7 separate regions of the Homo sapiens genome follow, and all the other regions are linked to region 4. The links are contacts of gene promoters, found by promoter capture Hi-C in blood cells and fetal thymus (Javierre and others, 2016). All regions are on one chromosome and are shown on one strand. Each heading gives the region's core, a stretch centred on a gene start or on the middle of the fragment in contact. The rest is flanking DNA. Distances are from core to core; before and after follow the strand shown.

Region 1 (3,585 bases), core at 513-3,012, 910 kb before region 4:
ACTATTCTCTTCTTTTCCTGAAGGTTTTTCCCTCAGCTGTTCCCATAGCTAGTTTCTTTTCTTCCTTCAGCTCTGATCTCCAAAGTCACCTCTTCACATAGACCTTCCCTGATGTTTTAATCAAATTTGTTCTCCCTAATATTGTCCATCAAAGCAACTAGTTTATTTCCTCCCTGGCATTAATCACAACATGCCATTCTTTTGTTAATTGTATTCAATTTCTTTAAGAAAAAAATTAAAAAATTTTTTGGTTTCCCCCCTCAACAAGTAGGATGGGCAGATGAAATATAGAATGCTCAGTTAAATTTGAATTTCCGATAAACAGCGAATTTTTAAAATATGAGATTTGGGACATACTATACTAAAAAAAGTATTCGTTATCTGAAATTTAAACTTAACTGGGCGTCCCTTTTTTTTTTTTTAGACGAAGTCTCGCTCTGTTGCCAGGCTGGAGTGCAGTGGTATGATCTTGGCTCACTGCAACCGCCGCCTCCTGGGTTCAAGCAATTCTCCTGCCTCAGCCTCCCGAGTAGCTGGGACTACAGGCACACGCCGCCACGCCCGGCTAATTTTTTTATTTTTTATTTTTATTTTAGTAGAGACGGGGTTTCACCATGTTGCCCAGGCTGGTCTCAAACCCCTGAGCTCAGGCAATCTGCCCGCCTCGGCCTCCCAAAGTGCTAGGATTACAGGCATGAGCCACCGCGCCCCGGCCGCGTCCCATATTTTTATTTAAAATTTTTTAACAGCTTCGCAGAATAAATTAGCGTCCCGCATTTTCTTTTTTATTTTGAGACGGAGTCTCGCTCTGTCGCCTGCCCAGGCTGGAGTGCGGTGGCGCAGTCTTGGCTCACTGCAACCTCCGCCTCCCGGATTCTCCTGCCTCAGCCTCCCGAGTAGCTGGGACTACAGGCGCGTGCCACCACGCCTGGGTAATTTTTTGTATTTTTAAAAAGAGACGGGGTTTCACCGTGTTAGCCAGGATGGTCTCCATCTCCTGACTTCGTGATCCACCGACCTTGGCCTCCCAAAGTGCTGGGATTACAGGCGTGAGCCACTGCACCCGGCCTGGTATTTTCATTTATTAAATCCGGCATCCTTACCCACAGGCCTGACTCTTGTCTTTTCCCTGGAGTTGTATTTTCCTGGCCTAGCCCAGAGCCCACCATTTACAAGGTGCTCAGTAATTGTTCTATATGAATGTACTATCTGCATGCTGTTTTGTACGTTTTTTACTCATCTGAAATTTACATGTATTTATCAGAAATTCCCACACTCACTAAAAACACTTGTTAAAGACAATTTTTGAAAATATATTATATTGCCAAAACTTCTTTGTTTTCCGTTTCTGCAAAATTGGTATAGTAGGAGTATCTACCCTCATCACATTTTGACAATTAGAAGAGTTAATGGAAAAGTAAAAGTAAAGTTTTGCACCGTGCCCGGCCCACTAGGACGCTCAATAAACTTCAGTTCTTTATTAAAGGAAGCCTGTGCACCATTTTAGCGTAAAGCAAAAAAAGCGCGTTTGTAAAGAACGGGTGGGGGTAGAGAAAACGGTTAGAAAGGTCTGTCGACCCAACACCGAGGGCCCGGGAAAAAGGGAGGAGAGAAGGGTGAATGACAGAGGAGCCAGCCAATGGGGAGACTGGGAACTACTTCCCCCCTCCCTTTGCGTTTCAAATTCTAAGCTCCGTTTCCATCCGGGTCCTTCAGCCTCGTTCCCGGGCAGTATAAAGTTTGCTGTCTCCTTTGTTCGCCCTCGTTGCGCAGTAGTGCTAGCGGCTTCGCGGTTCGGTCCTCGCACCCGGCAGCCGCCACTGGTGCTGAGCTGCTAGGAAGCCCCTATCGCCGAGCTCGTTGGAGCTTGAACCCATTGTCACCCCTCCGGTACGTGTCTCCTTTCCTCAGTCCGTTTTTCGTGACACTCTCCCCGTGTTAGGACTGGGGATTATATCTCCCTGGAGATGGGGGTGGCGGGCGCCATTTTAAGAACCCAAAGGTTCCGACCTATTTAAATAAAGCTGAGGGGGTCGAGGGAAAACAAATGAGGGGGCCCGTTTGGTTGTATGCTTCTCGAGAAAGTTTGGCTGCCATCTGCGGGAGTTGGTAGCGGAGGTCGGGGCTTTGTAGGCTGGAGCGGGGCGAGGAGCGACCGCACCACGGCGATACCTGCATTGGTATGGCGCTGGCGCTAATGATGGGCATGTGGACTTCCATGCGGGCTGCGGGCTTCGTATTCATTGGCGGCCCCGGAGAAGAAGCCCTCTGAATGTTCCCAGCCAATGTTGGTGGTAAAAGTTAGTCCCCTGACCAGTGTCGGTGGTTCTGGGTTGAATCCAAGTGTCGCCATTTTGTCTTTTACACGCGGTTTTTAATGACGAGTTTTAATTAGGTTCCGCTGCAGTCACGGAGTGTCGAGTGTTAGTGTGTGCGTCCGCGTTCCGTTACTTAATAGCAAACGATGTTGACGATTTGTTTTTATCTTTTTGGCCGGATAGTAGAATTTTCGGTAGGGCGGGGGCCGGTGAAGAAGAGGGGCGGCATAACTTGGCTTAAACTTCACATTTCTCCTTGGATTTAGTAGGGAATCCTAATGAGGAAAAGAGGAGTCGTTGGAAGAGGGCTTGGTGTTAAGGTCCTGTGTCTAGCCTGTGACCTTGGGAGTCTTTTAAAACCATCGTTAGGAAGGGTGTGATGAGTAATTGAATCTTTCAAAGGCAAGAGGACTGGAACTAAAAGTTGCTTTTTCAAATGTTAAGCAGCTGTTGCTTAAGAACAGCTAAGGGTGATCAAGGGTAGTGGTAAAAGTTAAGTTGGCCCTTTTAACCAGTTTTATGTAAATTGCAGTGTTACTAAACTACTTAGTTCAAATTGCTTCCTACTGTGGCTGAGGCTTAGCTCGTTATCGTTTTCTTTAGTTATTAAGGAACAATGGTTTTAGTGGAAAATATGAGAAATGTGCGAAAGTAAAAGTGTCCAATAAACTTGAGGAACTTTTTGCAGTGAGGTAATACTATTCCTTTTCAACAGACTCACCGGCCCAAAAAAAAAAAAACATGGTTGAAGCAGATCGCCCAGGAAAGCTCTTCATTGGTGGGCTTAATACGGAAACAAATGAGAAAGCTCTTGAAGCAGTATTTGGCAAATATGGACGAATAGTGGAAGGTGAGTTGTCTGGCAGTACAGGCTGGGCTATTATAATTAAAATATAAGCTATGATGAATTTGATTGCATTGATCGTCTGACATGATAATGTATTTTTGTCCTCTAAGAAGTTCTGAGCTTTCTGTTTACACATTTACTTTGGTTATTTCATTTGACCTAGGGTAACACTTTATTTTTCTGAAAACTACTTTTTAGTACTCTTGATGAAAGACCGTGAAACCAACAAATCAAGAGGATTTGCTTTTGTCACCTTTGAAAGCCCAGCAGACGCTAAGGATGCAGCCAGAGACATGAATGGAAAGGTGAGATTGTCTACACGATGGATGATAACCTGTTACTAGTGCATAAAATAACATGTAGTTGTCCAAGTCTGGTCTAGGACAGCTTTTGAGTTTTCGTTGTTTTTCAGTATATACC
Region 2 (3,752 bases), core at 519-3,018, 930 kb after region 4:
AAAATTGACAAATGGGACCTAATTAAACTAAAGAGTTTCTGCACAGCAAAAGAAACTATCAACAGATAAACAGATGACTTACAGAATAGTAGAAAATAATCGCAAACTAGGCATCTGACAAAGGTCTAATATCCAGAATCCACAAGGAACTTAAACAATTTCAATGAGAAAAAAAAATCTCATTAAAAAGTGGACAAACAACATGAACAGACACCTCTCTAAAGAAGACATGCAAGCAGCCAATAAATAAGAAAAAAATGCTTAACATCACTAATCATTAGAGAAATGCAAATCAAAACCACAATGAGATACCATCCCACACCAGTCAGAATGGCTATTATTAAAAGGTCAAAAAATAAGAGAATGCTTGCAAGGTTGCAGAGAAAAGGGAACACTTATACACTGCTGGTGGGAATGTAAATTAGTTCAGCTACTGTGGAAAGCAGTTTGGCAATTTCTCAAAGAACTTAAAATAGAACTACCATTCAACCCAACAATCCCTTTATTGGGTACATGCCCAAAGGAATATGAATTGTTCTACCATAAAGACATATGCATGCATATGTTCATTGCAGCACTAGCAATAGCAAGGACATGGAATCAACCTAAATGCTCATCAATGGTAGACTCAATAAAGAAAATGTGGTACATATACACCATGGAATACTGGGCAGCCATAAAAAAGAATGAGATCACGTCCTTTGCAACAATAAGGAATGAGCTGGAGGCCATTATCTTAAGTGAACTAAAGCAGGAACAGAAAACCAAATACCACGTTCTCACTTACAAGTGGGAGCTAAACATTGAGTGCACATGAACACAAAGAAAGAAACAATAGACACCAGGGCCTACTTGAAGTTGGAGGGTGGGATGGGGGTGAAGATTGAAAAACTACTTATTGGGTACTAGGCTTATTACCTAGGCAACAAAATAATCTGTATGCCAAAGCCCTGCGACATGCAATTTATATAACAAACCTGCACAGGTACCCCTGAAACTAAAATTTTTTTTAAAAAAAGAACATATAAATAGTTGCCACCAGTCAATAAAATGAGAAACCAATAAAAAATAGGTGAGATTTTTGAATGAGTGTATTAGTTAATTTTCTGTTGCTTATAACAGAATACCTGAAACAGTGTAATTTTTTTTTTAATAATGTATTCTTACAGTTATGGAGGCAGAGAAGTCCAAGTCAAGGGGTCACAACTGATGAGACCCTTCCTGCTGGTGAGGACTGTTTGCAGAGTCCCAATATGGTGCAGGGTATCACATGGTGAAGGAGCTGAGTGTGCTAACTTGCAAGCTCAGATTTCCCTTTCCCTTTCTCTTCTTATAAAGCCACCAGTTCCTTTCCCAGAACAACCCATTAATCCATTAATCTATGAATGAATTAATCCATTTACTTTAAGAGATGATCCAATCACCTCTTAAAGGCCCTACCTCTCAATATTGCCACACTGGGGATTAAGTTGTGTTAGTCTGTTCTCATGCTGCTGTGAAGAAATACCCAAGACTGGGTAATTTATAAAGAAAACAGGTTTAATTGACTCACAGTTAAATTGACTCACAGTTCTGGGGAGGCCTCAGAAAACTTAGGATCACAGTGGAAGGCACCTCTTCACAGGGTGGCAGGATAGAGAATGAGAGCCAGATTCTCTCTTCCTCCTTCCTTCTTTTCTCACTTTCTTTCTTGAGTTCTTGCTTTCTTTTTTCTCCTTTCCTGCCTTTCTCCCTTCCTCCCTCCCTCCCTTCTCTCATTTCCTCCTTTTCTTTCTTCTTTCCTTCCTTCCTTCTTTTTTCTTTCTTTTCTTTCTCTTTACTACAATCCATATTATTTAAAAAAAAATTAAGAAAGAGAGGCAGAAAAATAAAGAACACTTTAATCTGCAGGTAAATAAAAAAAAAAAAAAAAAGAGAATGAGAGCCAGCAGAGAAAATGCCAGATGCTTATAAAACCATCAGCTCTTGTGAGACTCACTCATTATCATAAGAATAGCATGGGGAAAACCGCCCCCATAACTCAGTTACCTCCTGCTGGGTCCTTCCCACAACATGTGGGGATTATGGGGATTACAATTCAAGATGAGATTTGGGTTGGGGGGACACAGCCAAACCATATCAAGTTGCACCATGAGTTTTAGTGGGGACAAATATTCCAACCATAGTAATCGGCATTTCATTAAAAAGGGTAGCAAAGTGGGTAAAAAGCATATGAAGAGACACGCATTATCATTAGTAATAATAGAAATGTAATTTTTTTTTTAGAAACAGGGTCTCACTCTGTCACCCAGGCTGGAGTGCAGTGGCACAATCACAACTCACTGCAACCTGGACTTCCCAGGCTCAGGTGATTCTGTCAGCCTCTTGAGTAGCTGGGACTACAGGTGCATACCACCACACCTAGCTAATTTTTTTTTTTTTTTTTTTTTTTTAGAGATATGGTCTCACTATATTGTCCAGGCTGGTCTGGAACTCCTGTGCTCAAGTAATCCTCCCACCTCAGCCTCCCAAAGTGCTGAGATTGCAGGTGTCAGCCACTTCACTCAGCCTAGAAATGCAAATTTAGCACAATGAGATATCACCACAGACTTATCAACTTATACCTCAATAAATAAGAGTGAACACTTGAAACACACAACATAGATGAATCTCACAGACATACAGCATAAATTCTGTATAATTTCATTTACAAGCAGTTCAAAAACAGGTAAAGTTTATCTTTGGTAATAAAGGTCAGAAGAATGTTTATACATAAGAGGCTCCTGCCTGAGAGGGGGCATGAGAGTCCTTTTGAATGCTGGAAATGTTCTATACATTGATCTGAGTGGTGTTATACTGATGTATACATATGTAAATGTTCATCTAGTTATACACTTAAGATTTTTATCCTTTGCTGGATGTAACATATCTCAGTTTTTTTAATATCAGAAAAAGAAAAAGGATTGTATATTTAGATAAGCAGTAGAAAAGTTACAGAACACCAAACACAAAGAGATCTTTCAAACAACTAAAGAGGAAACACAAAATTAGGCTGACAAATAATTTTTTAATAGCAAAAATGGAAGCTAAAAGACTACAGAATAATGCTGTTTCCATCAATTCTATTCAAATTTGTCACTTTTTAATATCTCTTATATCAAGGTGTTTATTACAATCAATCAAAATTATGAATTGTTGTTGGCCCAGGGGCTGCTGTGACATAATAGTTACTGCCTGCTTACATGCAAACATTAAAAGCACCTGTATCAAAACTTGCCAAACTGATGACGATGGATTAACGGGAAAAATTTAGGACAAAAAAGTGAAATTGTCATTTAAGAACTATTGCATCACTAAGGTTTTGGTGGTACATAATACAATATTATATAGAAAAAAAGAGATATGAATGGTTCCACAAGTCAAAGAGACTCAACAAGAATAATTTTAAAAGAATGAGGATAAAATAACTTTTCAGAAAATGAAAGACATCACAGTTTCCCTAATAGACCATTATTAAAGGAGTATATCTATAGGATATACTTTAGAAGAAGGAAAATGTACTAGTATAAATGTCTGGAATGCTGGCAAAGAAAATGGCAAATACATGGCTAAATCTAAACAAACAATAGCATAAATGTCTAATTTGAAGATGAAAAAACAGAGCTAAAGTAATGAGAAGAAGAACATTTACCCTGGGAGGCAATTATTTGTAATTAAAACGTTCTAAGTTCCTTGTATTAATTCATTACTTTTTTCTACTCATTAAGAAGTTA
Region 3 (4,012 bases), core at 178-2,677, 880 kb after region 4:
TTATTTATTTAGAGACAGAGTCTTCAATGCCCAGGCTGGAGAGCAATGACACAATCTCAGCTCACTGCAACCTCTGCCTCCTGGGTTCAAGTGATTCTCATGCCTCAGCCTCCCAAGTAGCTGGGATTACAGACGTGCACAACCACACCTGGCTAGTTTTTGTGTTTTTTGTAGAGGCGGGATTTCACCATGTTGGCCAGGCTGGTCTTGAACTCCTGGCCTCAAGTGATCAACCCTCCTCAGCCTCCTAAAGTGCTGGAATTACAGGTGTGAGTCACCACGCACAGCTCAACTTTTTTTAAAAAAATTAAAATAACACGTGTTGGTGAGGATGTGGAGAAATTGGAACCCTTGTTCATTACTAATGGGCATGTAAACTGGTACAGCAGCCACTGTGGAAAACAGGTGGTTCCTCAAATAGTTAAACCTAGAATTATCCTATAGCCCAGCATTTCCACTCCTAGGTACATACTCAAATGACTGAAAGCTGGTACTCAAACATGAATTTTCATAGCAGCACTATTTACAATAGCTAGAAGGTGGAAACAACCCAAATGTCTATCAGTCTATCAACTGATGAATGAATAAACAAAACTTGGTATATTTATACACTGGAATATTATTCAGCCCCAAAATAATCCCACAATGAAGGATTTGATACATATTACAAGGTGGATGAACTTTGAAAATATTATGCTAAGTGAAAGAAATCAGACACGAAAGATTACAAATTTTATGATTCCATTTATATGAAATGTCTAGAATATGTAAATTCATACAGACAGAAAGCAGATTAGTGGTTGCCATGGTCTAGGGGAGGGAAGGATGGAGAGTGACTGCTTAATGAGTACAGGGTCTCCTTTTAGGGAGATGAAAATGTTTTGGAACTAACAGTGGTGATGGTTACACAACATTGTGAATGTACTAAATGCCACTGAATTATACATTTCAAAATGGTTGATTTTATGTTATGTGGATTTCAACTCAATAATGAAAACAAAATTTGCTGACACATTTTACTATCTCACCACTGGGCCTTTTCCATAGATGAACTTCTCTCCTGGCCTTTCATTCAATCCCCTGCAGCCCTTGTCCTGCCCCTGTGGTATAAAAAGCTTACAAAAGTAGCCCCATCCCATTAGTTCCCAAGCAATCCTAGCCCTCAACTCCTTCCCCATTAGGGTGGCTCAGAGAGTGGGAATCTCTAGTGAACGATGGGATCATTGAGGACTGATCTGGCCATATTCCTCAACTGCCTGACCAGTGGAGAACAGCACAGACTCCTTGACTCTTCCTCCTGGCCTCCTGTTTTGGAGAAAAAGCAGAACATTCCCCTCCCATGCTGGCAGGCTCGCCCACACTGCCTTTAGTCTGGGCTCCTGGCTCTAACCCTGGGGCCTTCTCCTTGGACATGGATGTCTTGGCCTTGTAGTTAATGGATGCCACAAACACATGAATGCCTGACCCTCTGGACACAACCCCACATCATCTCACATTCCCAGTTCCTCCCAGGAAGAGGATCAAGTGACAAGCAGGACCCCAGGCAACAGCAACCAGCCGAGGCGGCTCAGTCACTTGCCACAATATTTAAATATGACATTGATGAAGAGCAGACATTGAGTCTGTATTAGTCTATTCCTACACTGCTATGAAGAAATAACCAAGACTGGGTAATTATAAAGAAAAAGGGTTTACTTGACTCACAGTTCTGCATGGCTGGGGAGGCCTCAAGAAGCTTACAATCATTGTGGAAGGGGAAGCAAACACATCCTTCTTCACAAGGTGGCAAGAGAGAGAAGTGCCGAGCAAAGGGGGAAAAACCCCTTATAAAACCATCAGATTTCATGAGAACTCACTCATTATCATGAGAACAACATGGGGTAACCAAGCCCATGATTCAATTACCTCCCACCGGGTCCCCTCCACCACATGTGGGGATTGTGGGAACTATAATCCAAGATGAGATTTGGGTGGGGACACAGCCAAACCATATCATTCCACCCCTGGCCCCTCCCAAATCTCATGTCCTCACATGTCAAAACACAACTATGCCTCTCCAACAGTCCCCTAAAGGCTTAGCTCATTCCAGCATTAACCCAAAAGTCCAAATCCAAAGTCTGAGACAAGGCAGTTCCCTTCTACATAAGAGCCTGTAAAATTGAAAGCAAGTTAGTTACTTCCTAGATATGATGTGGGTACAGGCATTGGGTAAATACATACATTCTAAATGGGAGAAATCGGCCAAAACAAAGGGGCTACAGGCCCCATGCAAGTCCGAAATCCAATAGGCCAGTCATTATGCCTTAAAGTTCCAAAATTATCTCCTTTGACTCCATGTCTCATATCCAGGTCATGCTGATGTCCACGGCCTTGGGCAGCTCTGCCCTTGTGGCTTTGCAGGGTACAGCCCCCCTCCCAGCTGCTTTCACAGGCTGGCATTGAGCATCTGTGGCTTTTCCAGGCACACGGTGCAAGCTGTTGGTGGATCTGCCATTCTGGGGTCTGCAGTCTGGAGAATGGTGGCCCGCTTCTCACAGGTCCACTAGGCAGTGCCCCAGTGGTGACTCTGTGTGGGGGCTCCAACTCCACATTTCCCTTCTGTACTGCCCTAGCAGAGGTTCTCCATGAGGGCTCTGCCCCTGCAGGAAACTTCTGAATGGACATCCAGGCATTTCCATATATCCTCTGAAATCAAGGCAGAGGTTCCCAAACCTCAGTTCATGACTTCCGTGCACCCACAGTCTCAACACCACATGGAAGTCACCAAGGCTTAGAGCTTGCACCCTCTGAACCAATGGCCTGAGCTGTACCTTGGCCTCTTTTAGCCACAGCTGGAGCTGAAGCACCTGGGACACAGGACACCATGTCCTGAGGCTGCACAGAGCAGGGTGGCCCTGGGCCTGGCCCAGGAAACCATTGATCCCTCCTAGGCCTCCAGGCCTATGATGGGAGGGGCTGCCATGAAGGTCTCTCACATGCCCCGGAGACATTTTTCCCATTGTCTTGGTGATTAACATTCAGCTCCTCGCTACTTATGCAAATTTCTTCAGCAGGCTTGAATTTCTCCCCAGAAAATGGGGTTTTCCTTTCTGTCACATCATCAGGCTGCAAATTTTCTAAATTTTTATGCTCTGCTTCCTCTTGAACATTTTGCCACCTAGAAATTTCTTCCACCAAATACCCTAAATCATCTCTCTGAAGTTCAAAGTTCCACAGATCTCTAGGGCTGGGGCACAATGCTGCCAATCTCTTGTCATAGCAAGAGTGACCTTTACTACAGTTCCCAACAAGTTCCTCATCTCCATCTAAGACCACCTCAGCCTGGATTTCATTGTCCCTATCACTATCAGCATTTTGGTCAAAGCCATTCAACAAGCCTCTGGGAAGTTCCAAACTTTCCCACATTCTCATGTCTTCTTCTGAGCCCTCCAAACTGTTCCAACCTCTTCCTGTTACCCAGTTCCAAAGTCACTTCCACATTTTCAGGTATCTTTATAGCAACACCTCACTACTCCTGGTACCAATTTACTGTATTAGTCCTTTCTCACACTGCTATGAAGAAATACCCGAGTCTGGGTAATTTATAAACAAAAGAGGTTTAATTGACTCACAGTTCCTCATGGCTGGGGAGGCCTCAGGAAACTTACAATCATAGTAGAAGGGGAAGCACACACATCCTTCTTCACATGGTGGCAGGAGAAAGAAGTGCAGCACAAAGGGGGAAAAGCACCCTATAAAACCATCATGTCTCATGAGAACTTACTGTCATGAGAACAGCATGGAGATAGCTACCCCCATGATTCAATTACCTCCCACTGGGTCCCTTCCACAACATGTGTGGATTATGGGAACTACAATTCAAGATGAGATTTGGATGAGGACACAGCCAAACCATATCAGAGTCTCACAAGTGGGGTGAGCAGACCCTCAGAGATTCAGAAGGACCAACAGGCTGTAACTTCCAAGAGTTTGCTCTCTGAGCCCTGAGACTGGGAGACAGTCTTGCTGCAGG
Region 4 (3,663 bases), core at 183-2,682:
TGCACATTTAAAAGGGGTGGTCAGGATAGGACGCATCTTTGAGCAAAAGCAAATTGATGCAACTAAAACGTAGAATTCTGATTGGGTTAAAGGAAAAGAATGGTGATCATACTTTGCATTTACCTTGTGATATGCAGTTTACAAAGCTTTGCCACTCAGTCAGGGGTCACTGGAGGAACTGGTGCAGAATTTGGAAAAAAAGGATGAATTCCATTTTAGCCATATTACGTTTTAAGTGCCACAGGAAATAAATGCCTATCTGGTAGTCAGAAATGCAGCCCTGGAGCTAAGGAGAGATATTTGTGATAGAGATGTCGATTTGGAATCACTGTAATACCTTTGCTGGCTGAAGCGGTGGGAATGAATGGGTGAGCTCCCCAGGGGACAGCAGAGTGATGAGGTCAAGGGGAGAAGCTCACTATTAAATGTCTACATTTCAGGAGATGAAGACAAAGAAAAATGGGCAGAGGAGTATACATTTTACCCGGATCAGAGATAGAGACAAGGCAAGAAGGCTGCGTTATTAGCATTTTAAAATTTCCTCTTTCATTTCTTCCTTAATGTAAGCTGGTTCTTTTCACGACAAAACACTCCCCCCGCGCTACACCTCTTTTTGCGCGAATCTTTCTCCAGGACCTTAAAATGGTTTACTGAGCACTTCCCGCGAGCCAAGTATTTGGGGTTCCAGATCCTGGGATTTTGTCCTGACACTGCCTCCTCGTTTTAACACCCTTGCCTCCTTCTGCAGTGCCAGTTTCCAGGGAGCTGAAGCACAGGAAAGGCCTACAGAAAACAAAAGGCACAGTTTCACAAAAAGCCAAAACCAACCAACCCACAAAACACAACTGTCAGGGGTCTATATCCAGCACCTACCGCCTTTCCCCAACGCCCCCAGCCCCGCCCCTCGGCCCCACCTCCTCCCGCCCCTCGGCCCCACCTCCTCCCCGCCCCCTCGGTCCCACTCCTCCGCGCCCCCTCGGTCCCACCTCCTCCCCGCCCCTCGGTCCCACCTCCTCCCCGCCCCCTCGGCCCTCACCCACTCTCCGTCCCCTCCGCCCCGCCCCCTACGCCCCACCCATCCTCCCGTAGGCCCCGCCCTCGGCCCCACCTCCTCCCCGCCCCTCGGCCCCACCTCCTCCCCGCCCCTCGGCCCCACCTCCTCCCCGCCCCTCGGCCCCACCCATCCTCCCCGCAGGCCCCGCCACTCGACCGCACCCACCAGGGCCCCCCCCCCCCGGCTACGCCCACCCACCCACCCACTGGCCCCGCCCCTCGGCTACACCCACCCTCGTGCGGGCCCCGCGCGTCTTCCCCACCCCGCCCGTCTGCCTACCCCGCCCCTCGCCCCCACACGTTCTCTACGCAGGCCCCCGTCCCTCTGCCCCACCCTGTTCTCGCCACTGGCCCTGCCCCCATTTGCCGGCGCCCTTCCTCTTCGCTTCCCCGTAGCTCCCGCTTTCGCCTCTTCGTTTATGACTCCGTTGGGCTCCGGCCCTCCTAGAGAGGCCTCCATAGCGCAGGTTCGTGGGTTCTCGCGGACCTTTTTCCGTGTAGCTTTCTGCTTCTTCCCGGCATTCCTGTTTCCGTTTTCTCACAGCCCTCTGGCTTTTCCACCACTGAGACACTTTGCGCTCAGGACTTCAGTGACGTCATCTTTCTGCGGCGCGCGGACACCCGCCGGTGGAAGAAGAAACAGCTCCGCCGTCCTTCGCTTCTTTTGCTGGGCTGCTGCTCCTTCGGCATCATGGCGCCGTCGCTGTGGAAGGGGCTGGTGGGCATCGGTCTCTTTGCCCTAGCCCACGCCGCCTTTTCCGCTGCGCAGCGTAAGTGCCTGGGGCACGGGGACCGCTTCGGTGTGGAACCCTAGGGGCGGTGTGTGGGCGCACTTCTAAGGGACCATCGGACCGAGTGTCAGATTAATGGTCCTTTGAGACCTTACAGTTTGGGGTGACTAAGAAAATCAGTGCAGGAGTTCCCAGTGGAAGGTTCGGAGTTTGAATTTGGAGAGAGTGTGGCACCTGAAATTGCAGGAAGGTTGGAAGGAGGTGTCTGGGAGAGGGTTCAGAATAGGAGTCTCCAGGAATCCAGGACAAGTGATGTCAGATCCAGCATGGGGCAGATCAGGCACAGTTGTGAGATTGAGGACTCTGGTTGCTCATGGTCCCACGACAACCAAGTGGACAACATCTTGGGCACTCTTGGGCTGTCCAGGCAGAGACTGAGTAGTTAAGTGACCGATTGCCTCAGGGAGGCACTGTGGTACAGGAGAAAGAGCACTGGACTGGGAGTCTAAAGGACTGGTTGTTAAAAACTTGCATTACCGCTACATCTGTGTGACGTTGGGCAAAAGATTTGTGCTACACTGCGTTATGAAATTCAGTTTTGGGTCGCTGTTTGAAATTGCGCTGTGTTTAGGTGCTAGAGATACAGTGATGCCCTGAGCCAGTTCAAAGTCTAAAGGAAAACAAGTGGATCAAGAAGTAGTTACAATAAAGTGATATGCTAAAAGTATATAAGGATGCATGGAAGCAGGGACAGTCATATTTTGGGGGAACTGGGAGGTTAAGGAAAGTATCCTAGATCCTTGCTGCTTACAGTGTGATCAACAGACCAGCATCATGAGCACCACCTGGCAGGTAATTAGAAGATACTCAGGCCAGACCTGTTCAATCAGAATCTGGGTTTTAATAAGATCCCAGGGTGATTTGTATGCGCATTAGTTTGAGAAACACTGTCCTGGAAGAGATTAGGATACACTGGAGTACTGTGTCATTTTCTACAGTAAGCTTTAACTGTAGAATTATATGATTGTGGGGCGAGAAGGGCCTTTGGAGTTCACTGAAGTCCAACCCCTTCATTTTACAGATGAGGAAATTCCTGGTTAAAGGTAGTGTTAGAAGCAGGCGAGGCTTCATGCAAACTAGCAAGCTAGCTAGGAATTGAACCAGATAGGAGATTAGTCAAAATCGATTTTTGGTGTTGGTTTGATGTTTCTTTTACACTTGTCTTTATGACAGAGCTGTAGGTTAAAACTTAAGAAATGTCTCTAAACACATTCTTCTTCAAGAGTCAATACACATGCACTCAAAAACAGTTTGAATTATTTAGTCCAAAGTACGTTATTAAATAGGGATTGTCCTAGGTTCATCTAGAATTAAGATTTTTGTATTTTATGTTTTGGGTGATGAGAATGCCTTGTGGATTTGCCACTGCAGTGAGACCTCTTTATATATAATGCTCATGTTAGGGAGAGAGTAATATGTAACTTTAAGACTAAGTGTGTCATGTCAGACTGTAGCAGCAGATAGCACAATGTGGTGCTGTGGCATGCTCATCTTTGCTGTAATGAACTTTGTTACAGTAGGGCACCAGTCATTTACTGTATCTTGTTTAATCCTCACCTCACATTATTCTCATTTTACTGTTGTGGAAATTCAGGTAATGAAAAAAATAGATACTGTATTTCTTTGATTCTAAGACACCCACCATTTTAACACTCTGAACTTGAGATATGTATTATGATCACTGCGGGCTTCTTTAATTAAATGAAATTATAGTAAATTGAAGAGCTGGCACTGATTTAGGCTTACCAGTTTCCAAATCCTGATCCTTTTCTTTTATCCCTTGCTGCCTCCTGAGGTTAAGGCAGCAGCAGCGGAATTA
Region 5 (3,566 bases), core at 800-3,299, 970 kb after region 4:
TGATCATTAAAATCTCCACCCTTTCCTATCAAAGCAAGAAGAAAAAAAAATCTGCCCCCACAGAAAAGGAGAACAAGACCATTGCAAACAGTCTGTCCTGCCTATAGATGTGCTACACTGGGTGGTTGGGCATGGCTCTCTCCCTGGGATTTCATAGTGATCTTAAACAGCCGGTTTCAGAAACTCTATTCTTTCCATTCAGTCTAGAGGGGCCCAAGCTGCAGTGTCTCACCTCTTGTGTTAGGGTTTTACTAGTATGCTAAGCTCAAATCACTTCTCCAATTGCAGCTGAAACTTGATTGATATGCCTTTTATTACCCTCTCTTGTGTTACAGAATGAGTCTCACATTAGGCTGTGAACCACTCCCAGCCAGCTACTGTTGCCCACGCCTCCATATGTGTGCCACTCTTCCCAGAGATTCTCTGAAATGTTGTTCTGGGCAGTGGGGAGTTTGAAAGGGACTGAAGGATTAGGGAGCAGATGGCCAGTGACGTCCAAGTTATTACCATTAACCAAATTCCCTTCTAGCACTGTCTCAGCCGATGGCGGCCACACACAGTCTTTGAAAGCTTGTGATGGGCATCCAGTAATGAATCTTGCTCTGTTACCCAGGCTGGAGTGCAGTGGTACAATAATAGCTCACTGCAGCCTTCAACTCCTGGGGTCAAGCGATTGTCTTGCCTCGGCCTCTCGAGTAGCTGGAACTACAGGCATGCACTACCACGCCCAGCTTATTTTTTTCTTTTTTGTAGAGAGGGGGGTCTTGCTATATTGCCCAGGCTGGTCTCAAACTCCTGGCCTCAAGCAATCCTCCTGCCTCAGCCTCCCAAAGTGCTGAGATTACAGGTGTGAGCCACTGCCACTCAGCCCAGATAAGGCTTTCGATGCCCAGTTGCACTGGCCCCCAGATAGTGGAGGGTCATTGGCCAAGTACATGTCATCTTCCCTCATTTTTTCATTATACAAGGGAATGTGTGAGTTAAGATGACCATTGTCTCAGAAAGCCAGGGACACACTGAGACAGGAATTGCTGCTGCTGGAGGTTCCCTGAGCTATCACCATCCATAGACTAGGGAGTATATAAGGCTGGTTCACCCTGCCATCCTAACTCCCCAGAGAAACTGTAAGTGACGATGAGGAGCCTGGATGGAGAGGGGCAATGTCTGGGGAAAGAGACATTATATGAGGGCAAGATGCGGTAAATGCCCTCAAGGAAGAAATAGGACCTACAGGGTAAGAAACTAAAGAAAAATTTGGTGAGATTTGGGGGATGCTTCTCACATGTATTTTTAACTGAGGATTAGTAATATAATAAAATAAATAAATAGCAAAATCACAAACCCATCAAGTTCCCTATTGTAATAGCTACAATTAGCCCAGTTACTACCTCTGACAGACCCTGTGCTGAGCATTAGTCTGTATCATCTTTCTTCATGCTTATAGTAATCTGGGCAGCCAGGCCCTATATGTATGTCTCAGAGAAGTCAAGTCACTTGCTCAAGGACATACTGTTAGTAATTTGCTGAGGCAGGATTAAAACCCAGGCATGTGTGATTCTATACCTTGTTTGATCTTAACCCCACAGCACCCTAGAATGGACAAGGGCTGGTACACAGATATTCATTAAAGAAAATTTGAAAACAGAGATTATTAGAAAAAAATAGCATTATTCTTACCATATAAACTGAAACAGTTTATATCTTGTTTTATTGTCATCTAGTCCTTCTTTTCCATATATATTTATAACTCTATTGTGTTTGCAATTTATTTTCCATTGCTTTGACTTAATTTATGTGCATTACCTTATTGCTTCATTTTTTGTAACCTGTGTTTTCATGTTTTTTTTTAAACAACTGTGTTCTTTTTTATTACAAAACTGTTCTCTATCTTATTGCAAAGGACTTGTCAATTCATAATGGCACAAAGGAGAGAATAACAAGTGAACTATACAGAAAGTGACTCACCAGAGATAATTACTTCAATTTTTTCTTTTAATTGCAAAGACACAATGAGCAGAGGAGTAAGCAGCAGTTATTCCAGTCGGAGTTGGGTGCATCTGTGGAAAGTGCCAAACGGACCTGTTTCTCCCTCAGAGAACATTTCTTCCCCTTCCTGTTGTGTGCCCCCTTCTGCCTCCCGGTTTCTGCATAAGACAGGTGGGCTTAGAATTGTCACTGTAGTCTGGGGTAGAGTGGATTCTAGGCAGCTGGGGGCAGCCGTAGGGCATTGTCCTCCTAAAGGCTGTGTCAGAGGGTGGAGGCAAAGAAAAATGTCCTTTTTGTCCCGATTTGGACCCTATTTCAGGTCAGTGGGTATGATTTTGCCATTTGCTTTTAGTCTTTCACCAACGTCACAAAATTACATTACCACTCCGATCTTTATATTTCTAAGCATCACCGGAAATGCATGGTTGTGGAGGCGTGTCCATGGGGCGGAATGTGGGCCTGTCCATGGGGCGGAATGTGGGCTTGGCCATGGGCGTGGCCTGAGTGCTTGCGCGGGCTCCGCCCCCAAAGCCCGATGGTCACTAGTGCGCAAGCTCAGAACGGGGCCGGGCCGCGGCTGTGAGAACGTGGGGGAGGGCTTAACTCTCTTCAGGAGGCGGGGTCTGAATCAGAAAGGTGGGGCCAAGATTTCCCAAGGCAGGCGCGGGCGAGGGGCGGTGCGCGGGGGAAGATCCCAGGACAGTTTGCGGTGTGAGGGGAGATTGCGCCCGCTGCCCAAAGAGAGCAGAGGACACGTGTTCTGGAAGGTGATGCGGCCTCCTACCGTACTCCTCCCCTCACCTAACTCATCAGCTGTAGCGTGTCCCTTTACTGACTCTCGGCTGTGGACGCCACTGGAGTGAGGTTCTGTGAACACATTTTCCTCCTTCATGCATCTCTCAGCCAGATTATTGGCTCCCTGGCCGCAGATGTGGTTACTTTGAAACATTAATAGGAAAGCCCCAAATATTAGCAAACATCCAGAGCAGCACATTCAAAGAGTAATGCACCATGAACAGTTAATAGAAGGTGGGTTAAATGTTCAGAAATCTATTAATTTGCTATATTAGGACACTAAATGAAAATAATTATAGGACATCTTCAGAGATGCTGAAAATATAAAAATAGGAGGGATTGTATTATTTTACCAGAAACATTTGCTTTTAGTGTTTTACCAACACCACAAAATTGAATTGCCACTCTGATCATTACATTACTTTCTTTAACATCATAATCACATATATGCACATAATACACCATTTACTTAGGGCAGTCAGTTTTAATGACACTTCTGTTTCTTTCATGAATCATGTGTTTTTATGAGATACTGCTGTGTGTCAACCCCCCTTGGATGCCCAAAACAGCTCAGCCCAAAGAAGATGCGGTTCGAATTTAAAATACATAATTTAATCATGGGTTTAGAGTTAGGATTTTAAGTAAAACTCTTACTAATTTTTATATACATACATACTACATATATACATACATACTACATACTACATATATATACATATAATATTGGAACATTTAAGAGAAGCTTAGTTTCACTGTTACCGGTTTACTTTTTTATTTTTTGAGAT
Region 6 (4,080 bases), core at 256-2,755, 940 kb before region 4:
AAATAAGGTGACAGCAAAAAAGAAAAAACAAAGGCTGGGCACGGTGGCTAACACTTGTAATCCCAGCACTTTGGAAGGCTGAGGCGGGCGGATTACGAGGTCAGGAGTTCAAGACCAGCCTGGGCAACACAGTGAAACCCCGTCTCTACTAAAAATACAAAAATTAGCTGGGCGTGGTGGCGGGTGCCTGTAATCCCAGCTACTCAGGAGGCTGAGGCAGGAGAATTGTTTGAACCTGGGTGGTGGAGATTTCGAGTGTGCTAGATCACGCCACTGCACTCCAGCCTGAGCAACAGAGCTAGACTCTGTCTCAAGAAAAAAAAAAAAAAAAGACAAAAAAGAAAATCAAAACTTAACCAGGCATGGTGGCACATGCCTGTAGTCCTAGCTACTCAGGAGGCTAAGAGGATCAATTGAGCCCAGGAGTTTGAGGATGCAGTGAGCTATGATTACATCACTTTGCTCCAGCCTGGGCCACAGAACAATACCCTGTCTCAAAACAAACAAACAAAAAACTTCTGAAAGGAATTGAAAAATTAATTGAGTCATGTTAATTTTTTTTTTTTTTTCTGAGACAGCGTCTCACTCTTTCACCCAGGCTGGAGTGCAGTGGTGCAATCTCGGCTCACTGCAACCTCCGCCTCCCAGGTTCAAGCAATTCTCATGTGCCTCAGCTTCCCAAGTAGCTGGGATTACAGGTGCCTGCCATCATGCTCGGCTAATTTTTGTATTTTTAGTAGAGATGGGTTTTCGCCACGCTGGCCAGGCTGGTATCAAACTCCTGAGCTCAAGCAATCTGTCCACCTTGGCCTCCCAAAGTGCTGAGGTGGCACGCCACCTCACCCAGCCAAGTCATGTTATTTCAGATGCCAAACCTACCAATGATGCTAGTAATTCAGTCGTATTACTTTCTTCAAAAAAAGCCAGCTTGTCCATTTGGTCTCGATCGTAAGATTTTACACAAATTTTTACACATTTCTGTTTTGTTAAAACTGTTAAGAAAAAAATTGAAAATATTAAGAGATTTGGCTAAAGTTTATAATTCAAATGTCATGAAATAAGCAATTTATCTTACAGGTAAAACTTCTTCAAAGACTTCAGTATGCCATTATTCTCTACATTTTCCTCTTCTACATTTTCATTCCTAACTGAAATGATTACAACTAGACACACACACAATGCTGTCATCACTGAAGAGAAGAATTTGTCTTCTTCAGTAACATACAAAGTGGGATATGAAATAAGCAATTTGTCTTCTTCAATAACATACAAGGTGGGATATGAAATAAGCAATTTATCTTACAGGTAAAACTTCTTCAAAGACTTCAGTATGCCATTATTCTCTACATTTTCCTCTTCTACTTTTCATTTGTAACTGAAATGATTACAACTAGACACACACACAATGCTGTCATCACTGAAGAGAAGAATTTGTCTTCTTCAATAACATACAAGGTGGGATATGAAATCCACCCTAGCTTCCTAAGAACTACCCTGATATACAATCCTTCACTTAAAAGTGACAATAAAATTGATGGTAGTGGTGGTTGTACAACTCTGTGAATATACTAAAAAACACTAAATTAGACACTTTAAGTGGGTGAATTATATGGTACGTGATTTTTCTCTGAATAACACTGTTACCAAAAGAATGTGATCATAAAATATTTGATACTTTTAATACAAAATTTCTTATTTACAAGGTCTAGCTATGGAGGATTATCAAGGTAAAGTGCCAGTGGTTTTTTTACTTTTTGTTTTTTGTTTTTGAGACGGAGTTTCATTCTTGTTGCCCAGACTGCAGTGCAATGGCACCACCTCGGCTCACTACAACCACCGCCTCCCAGGTTCAAGCAATTCTCCTGCATCAGCCTCCCGAGTAGCTGGGATTACAGGCATGCACCACCATGCCCGGCTAATTTTGTATTTTTAGTAGAGACAGGGTTTCTCCATGTTGGTCAGGCTGTTCTTGAACTCCCAGCCTCAGGTGATCCGCCTGCCTCGGCATCCCAAAATGCTGGGATTACAGGCATGAGCCACCGCACCTGGCCCAGTGTTATTATTATTATTATTATTATTTTCTTCCAGAGCCTTCAGATGAAATGTGCCAATGTTATGAATCAGGAAATAATGAGCATGAGTAAACAATGAAAAACAGAGTCATATTTTAGCACCTACTGTCCTGAAATAATACAAATATGAACCAAAAAAGAATCTTATTGGCAGCAGAGTTGTACTACACTGCCAAGTTTCTTCAGTCCAAGGGATAGCATTTCTTGATAAGGTACACTTTCCTGTTAGAACAATGGCACTCCACAAAGGTATTGCATGCAAATTTAATCATCAAAAAGCTAATGCCTGACACACAAACCAATGTAACAGTACAACAGAAAACTCAGAAATACAGCCATACAACTATGCCCAAGTGATTTTTTACAAAGGTGAAAAAGTTGCCAGGCTCGGTGACTCACACCTGTAATCCCAGCACTTTGGGAGGCCGAGGCAGGTGGATTACTTCAGGTCAGGAATTTGAGACCAGACTGGCCCCGTCTCTACTAAAACTACAAAAATTAGCTGGGCGTGGTCCCAGCTACACAGAAGGCTGAGGCAGGGCCAGGTGAGGTGGCTCACACCTGTAATCCTAGCATTTTGGGAGGCCAAGGTGGGCGGATCACATGAGGTCAGGAGTTCGAAACCAGCCTGGCCAACATGTTGGAACCATGTAGAAAGATGGAACCATGTAGTAGAGATGGAACCCCATCTCTACTAAAAATACAAAAAAAAATTAGCCGGGCATGGTGGCGGATGCCTGTAATCCCAGCTACTTGGGAGACTGAGGCAGAAGAATTGCTTGAACTCGAGATCACACCACTGCACTCCAGCGTGGGCAACAGAGCAAGACTCCATCTCAAAAAAAAAAAGAAGAAGAAGAAGAAGGCTGAGGCAGAAGAATCGCTTGAGCTCAGGAGGTGGAGGCTGCAGTGAGCCAAGATGGTGCCACTGCACTCCAGCCTGGGGGACAGAGCAAGCCTCTGCCAAAAAAAATTTGAAAAGGTGCAAAAGCAATTTCACGGAGGAAGGATAGATAGTCTTTTCAAGAAACCATGCTAAAGAAATTAGATATCTATAGGCAAAAAAAAAAGTTAATCTCAACCTTTCACATCTTCCAACAACAAAAAACCCAAAATGTATCACAGACTTAAATGTGTGAACCCCAAATACCGGAAACAGGTCTCATTCAGTATAGAAAGTTTATGTTGCCAGGTGCAGTGGTTCACACCTGCAATCCTAGCACTTTGGGAGGCCGAGGTGGGTGGATTACCTAAGGTCAGGAGTTCGACCAGCCTAGCCAGCATGGTGAAACCCCATCTCTACTAAAAATACAACAACAACAAAAAAAAATTAGCTGGGCGTGGTGACGGGTGCCTATAATCCCAGCTACTCGGGAGCCTGAGGCAGGAAAATCACTTGAACCCAGGAGGTGGAGGTTGCAGTGAGCCGAAATCGTGCCACTGCACTCCAGCCTGGGAGACAGAGTGAGACTTCATCTCAAAAAAAAGAAAGAAGGAAGGAAAGAAAGGAAGGGAGGAAGGGAGGGAGGGAAAAAGAAAGGAAGGAAAGGGAAGGAAAGAGAAAGAAAGAGAAAGCAAGAAAAGAAAGAAAGAAAAGAAAGAAAGAGAAAGGAAGGAAGAGAAAGAAAGAGAAAGAAAAAGAGAGAGAGAGGGAGGGAGGGAGGAAGGAAGGAAAGAAGAGGGGAAGCCGAAGGGGAAAGGGAAAGGAAAGGAAAGGTTCCAGATGTTACTAATCATGTTTCTTTGTTAGGGAGCCTGCTGAAATAAAGAATAAAGAGCAAGGAGTAGATATAAACAGTCAGAGAAAAGGCAAATAAAAAATATAAAAAGGATGCTATTTCTTACATGTGTTTGGCAAGAGGTTTGCTCAAAACACTGCTATCAATATTTCTCACAGGGAAAGGCAAGCTCCAGGTTTGAAAAGTAAACATGCTGCACCTAGAACTAGCCTTTAAAAACTCCTAGAACCTTAAAGTTGGCTAAGTCTATAGTCAGATGGCACCAGCAC
Region 7 (3,816 bases), core at 238-2,737, 870 kb after region 4:
CCCTGAATAGACCAATATCAACTTCTGAAATTGAATCAGTCATAAAGAATCTACCAACCAAAAGAAGCCCTGGACCAGATGGATTCATAACCAAATTCTATGAGATGTGCAATGAATAACTAATATCAATCCTAGTGAAACTATTCCAAAAAAAATCAAGGAGGAGGGGTTCCTCTCTAACTCATTCCATTAAGCCAACATCAGCCTAATACCAAAATCTGGCAGAGACACAATGAAAAAAGAAAACTTCAGACCAATATCCCTCATGAGCATAGATGCAATAATCCTCAACAAAATATTAACAAACCAAATCTAGCAGCATATCAAAAAGTTAATACACCATGATCAGGTAGGCTTCATTCCTGAGATGCATGACTGGTTCAACATATGCAAATCAATCAACAAGGTTCACCACATAAACAGAATGAAAAGGAAAATCATATGAACATCTCAATAGATGTACAAAAAGTTTTCAATAAAATCCAGCTTCCCTTCATGATGAAAACCTTCAACATACTAAGCATTGAAGGAACAAACTTCAGAATAATAAGGTTCTATGGCAAACCCACAGCCAGGTTCATACTGAGTGGGCAAAAGCTCAAACCATTCTCCTTGGTAACTGGAACAAGACAAGGATGCCCACTCCCACCACCCCTTTTCAACATAGTACTGGAAGTCTTAGCTAGAGCAATCAGGCAAGAAAAAGAAATAAAAGGCATCCAAATAGCAAAAGAAGAAGTCAAACTATCTCTCTTCACTGACTATATGATTCTGTACCTAGAAACCCCTAAAGACTGTGCCAAAAGGATCCTAGAACTGATAAATCACTTTAGTAATGTTTCAGGATACAAAATCATTGTACAAAACTCAGGAGCATTTCTACACACCTGCAATATCCAGGCTGAGAGTGAAATCAAGAACATAACCCACTTACAATAGCTACAAAGAAAATGAAATACCTAAGAATACAGCTAACCAAGGAGGTGAAAGATCTCTGCAAGGACAACTACAAAACAATGATGAAAGAAATCAGAGATGACATAAATAAATTTTTAAAAATTCCATGCTAATGGGTAGGAAGAACTAATATAGAAATGGCCATACTGCCCAAAGCAATTTACAGGTTCAATGCTATTCATATCAAACTGCCAACATCATTCTTCACAGAATTAGAAAAAAAAACTATTCCAAAATTCACATGAAGCCAAAAAGGAGCCTGAATAGCCAATGCAATCCTAGGAAAAAAGTACAAAGCTGGAGGCATCATACTACCCAACTTCAAATTATATTATATACCCACAGAAATCAAAACAGCTTTTTGTACTGGTACAAAAACAGACACATACAGCAATGGAACAGAATAGAAAATTTGGAAATAAGGCCACACATCTACAACCATCTGATCTTCGACAAGGCCGAGAAAAACCAGCAATAGGGAAAGGGCTCCCTATTCAATAAATGGTACTGGGATAGCTGGCTAGTCATATGTAGAAGACTAAAGCTGGAACCCTACCTTTCACTATATATAAAATTTCACTCAAAATCAATTAAAGAGTTAAATGTAAGACCTCAAACTCTAAAAATCCTGGAAGACAGCCTAAAAAATACTCTTCTCAACATCAGCCTTGGCAAAGAATTTTTGACTAAGTCCCCAAAAGCAATTGCAACAAAAACAAAAACGGACAAATAAGACCTAATTAAACTAAAGAGCTTCTACACAGCAAAAGAAACTGTCAATAGAGAAAAAAAAAACACAGATAACATGCATAATGGGATAACATATTCACAAACTATGCATCCAAGAAAGGCCTAATATCTAGAATCTATAGTGAACTTAAATTGACAAGAAAAAACAAATAACTCCATTAAAAATGGGCAAAGGATATGCACAGACACTTCTCAAAAGAAGACATACAGGTGGCCAACAAATATTATAAAATGCTCAATATCACGAATCATCAGAGAAATGGAAATCAAAACCACAGTGATATACCATCTCACACCAGTCACAATGGCTATTACTAAAAAGTCAAAAAATGACAGATGCTGGCGAGGCTGCAAAGAGAATGCTTATACCTGTTGATAGGAATGTAAATAAATTCAGCCACTGTGGAAAGTAGTCTGCAGATTTCTCAAAAAACTTAAAACAGCTACCATTCAACCCAGCAATCCCATTACTGGTATATACTCAAATGAAAATAAATCATTATACCAAGAAAACACATGCACTCATGTGTTCATGGTTGCACTATTCACAATAGCAAAGATACTGAATCAACCCAGGTGCCCATCAATGGTAGATTGGATAAAACAAATGTGGCACAAATACACCATGGAATACTATGCAGCCATAAAAAAGAATGAAATCTTACTACTTTGCAGAAACATGGATGGAGCTGGAGGTCATAATCCTAAGCGAATGAACACAGGAACAGTAAACCAAATAGCACATGTTCCAGCTCAAAAATGGGAACTAAACATTAAGCACACATGGATATAAATATGGAAACAATAGACACTGTGGACTACTAGAAGGGGGAGGAGGGAGGAAGGGAGAAGGGTGAGTTGAAAACCGATCTGTTGGATACAATGCTCACTAGCTGGGTGACAGGATTCATATCCAAAACCTCAGCATCACACAATATTTCCATGTAACAAACCTGCAAATGTACCCCTGTGTATCTAAAATAAAAGCTGAGACTGGGCACAGTGACTCATGCCTGTAATTCCAGCACTTTGGGAGGTTCAGGTGGAAAGATTGCTTGAGCCTAGGAGTTTGAGACCAGCCTGGGCAACATAGTGAGACCCCCATCTCTACACAAAAAAATTTTAATTAGCGGGGCATGGTGGCATGGCCTGTAGTCCCAGCTGCTCAAGAGGCTGAGGCAGGATTGCTTGAGCCTGGGAGGCAGAGGTTGCAGTGAGCCAAGATCGCATGACTGAACTCCAGCTTGGGTGACAGCACAAGAGCCTGTCTCAGAAAATAAAATAAAATAAAAGTTGAAATTTAAAAATAAATAAATAATAATGCTGATTGTGAATGCAAATACACTGGGTTCACAGACTCCCACCTAACCTATCTCAGAGCCTCAGTTTCCACCTCCTTACAAGCCCCCTTCACTGCAAGTACAGGCAACAGAGACCTGTCACAACCCTTTAGTCACAACCCTTTCAAATTACTGGATTTTAGACGATAATTACTCTTCAAGATGGCTGCTGAAATTTAAAGATGCTAAAAAAGCTAAAGTGCAACATGAATATAACAATCAGACTCTTACAATGGAAATATTTTATGACTTGATAGAAACCTGACACGATCATCACCACGTTTCTGTGTGTGCCAGCTGGCATGGTACCTGGGGAAGATAAATGAGGCTACAACAATTTTTGGTCCCAATTCTGAATCCTCCCACAGACAAGGTGACAACTAGAGCTGGCTACAAACAGGAAATTCAGTCTGTAAAAACTGAAGAACTTGGAGTTTTAACAGCCAGTGAGCAACAATTTTTGATACATTTACAAAAATGTTTTTTAAAATTCTAAAAAGAGGAGGACTGTTCTCTCACTCTCAATAAAATATTAGAAACAGACACATAAAATGACAAACTATTCTCTCGATTGGTGGCAATGGCCACCTTCTGCGTTCCAAATAATCCTTGGGTTGGGAACCATTAGTGCTGGAAAGGAAATGGAAGTTCCACAGCTTCTGCCAGAATTCCAGGATTTCAGAAAGAACACTATAAACTGAAGAAATGAAAAGTAAGGAAGAGAGGCACGGGGTGATATTTCCTCTAAATCTCAATGTTGACCGGAAAG

Evidence for each region. The method cuts DNA at HindIII sites, captures the fragments that hold promoters and counts their contacts. A CHiCAGO score of 5 or more calls a contact.
Region 1: the fragment with the promoter of RBMX here is called in contact with the fragment with the promoter of MMGT1 in region 4 in 12 of 17 cell types (naive CD8 T cells, neutrophils, fetal thymus and 9 more); the score reaches 13.2 in naive CD8 T cells.
Region 2: a fragment that was not itself captured here is called in contact with the fragment with the promoter of MMGT1 in region 4 in 1 of 17 cell types (neutrophils); the score reaches 8.7 in neutrophils.
Region 3: a contact is called between a fragment that was not itself captured here and the fragment with the promoter of MMGT1 in region 4, in 1 of 17 cell types (monocytes). The highest score is 6.5, in monocytes.
Region 5: a contact is called between a fragment that was not itself captured here and the fragment with the promoter of MMGT1 in region 4, in 7 of 17 cell types (neutrophils, non-activated CD4 T cells, naive B cells and 4 more). The highest score is 7.7, in neutrophils.
Region 6: a fragment that was not itself captured here is called in contact with the fragment with the promoter of MMGT1 in region 4 in 5 of 17 cell types (fetal thymus, total CD8 T cells, non-activated CD4 T cells and 2 more); the score reaches 8.6 in fetal thymus.
Region 7: a fragment that was not itself captured here is called in contact with the fragment with the promoter of MMGT1 in region 4 in 3 of 17 cell types (neutrophils, naive B cells and total B cells); the score reaches 6.7 in neutrophils.

Annotation. Positions count from the first base shown.
Region 1 is chrX:136,878,902-136,882,486 of GRCh38, reverse strand. It overlaps RBMX (RNA binding motif protein X-linked), which reads left to right and starts at 1,762. Exons shown (of 9, transcript NM_002139.4): 1 at 1,762-1,890; 2 at 3,034-3,168; 3 at 3,364-3,470. The coding sequence starts at 3,060. It overlaps SNORD61 (small nucleolar RNA, C/D box 61), which reads left to right and starts at 3,216; the gene lies at 3,216-3,288. RefSeq lists enhancers at 1,639-2,237, 1,907-2,366, 2,377-2,436, 2,238-2,837. The HindIII fragment of the contact is 13,799 bases long and covers 1-3,585 here.
Region 2 is chrX:135,039,633-135,043,384 of GRCh38, reverse strand. No RefSeq gene overlaps it. Among named protein-coding and RNA genes, the nearest start is that of RTL8C, 9.2 kb to the right of the region's middle. The HindIII fragment of the contact is 5,942 bases long and covers 1-3,752 here.
Region 3 is chrX:135,088,213-135,092,224 of GRCh38, reverse strand. No RefSeq gene overlaps it. Among named protein-coding and RNA genes, the nearest start is that of SMIM10L2B, 8.5 kb to the left of the region's middle. The HindIII fragment of the contact is 620 bases long and covers 1,118-1,737 here.
Region 4 is chrX:135,971,757-135,975,419 of GRCh38, reverse strand. MMGT1 (membrane magnesium transporter 1) reads left to right here and starts at 1,432. Exons shown (of 4, transcript NM_173470.3): 1 at 1,432-1,823. The coding sequence starts at 1,745. It also overlaps a transcript of SLC9A6 not described here. RefSeq lists a silencer at 1,234-1,343 and an enhancer at 1,354-1,883. The HindIII fragment of the contact is 2,640 bases long and covers 149-2,788 here.
Region 5 is chrX:135,003,203-135,006,768 of GRCh38, reverse strand. No RefSeq gene overlaps it. Among named protein-coding and RNA genes, the nearest start is that of SMIM10, 14 kb to the right of the region's middle. RefSeq lists enhancers at 1,678-2,186, 2,187-2,697 and a silencer at 2,605-2,664. The HindIII fragment of the contact is 2,953 bases long and covers 573-3,525 here.
Region 6 is chrX:136,911,042-136,915,121 of GRCh38, reverse strand. No RefSeq gene overlaps it. Among named protein-coding and RNA genes, the nearest start is that of RBMX, 32 kb to the right of the region's middle. The HindIII fragment of the contact is 5,729 bases long and covers 1-4,080 here.
Region 7 is chrX:135,105,135-135,108,950 of GRCh38, reverse strand. No RefSeq gene overlaps it. Among named protein-coding and RNA genes, the nearest start is that of SMIM10L2B, 8.3 kb to the right of the region's middle. The HindIII fragment of the contact is 6,245 bases long and covers 1-3,816 here.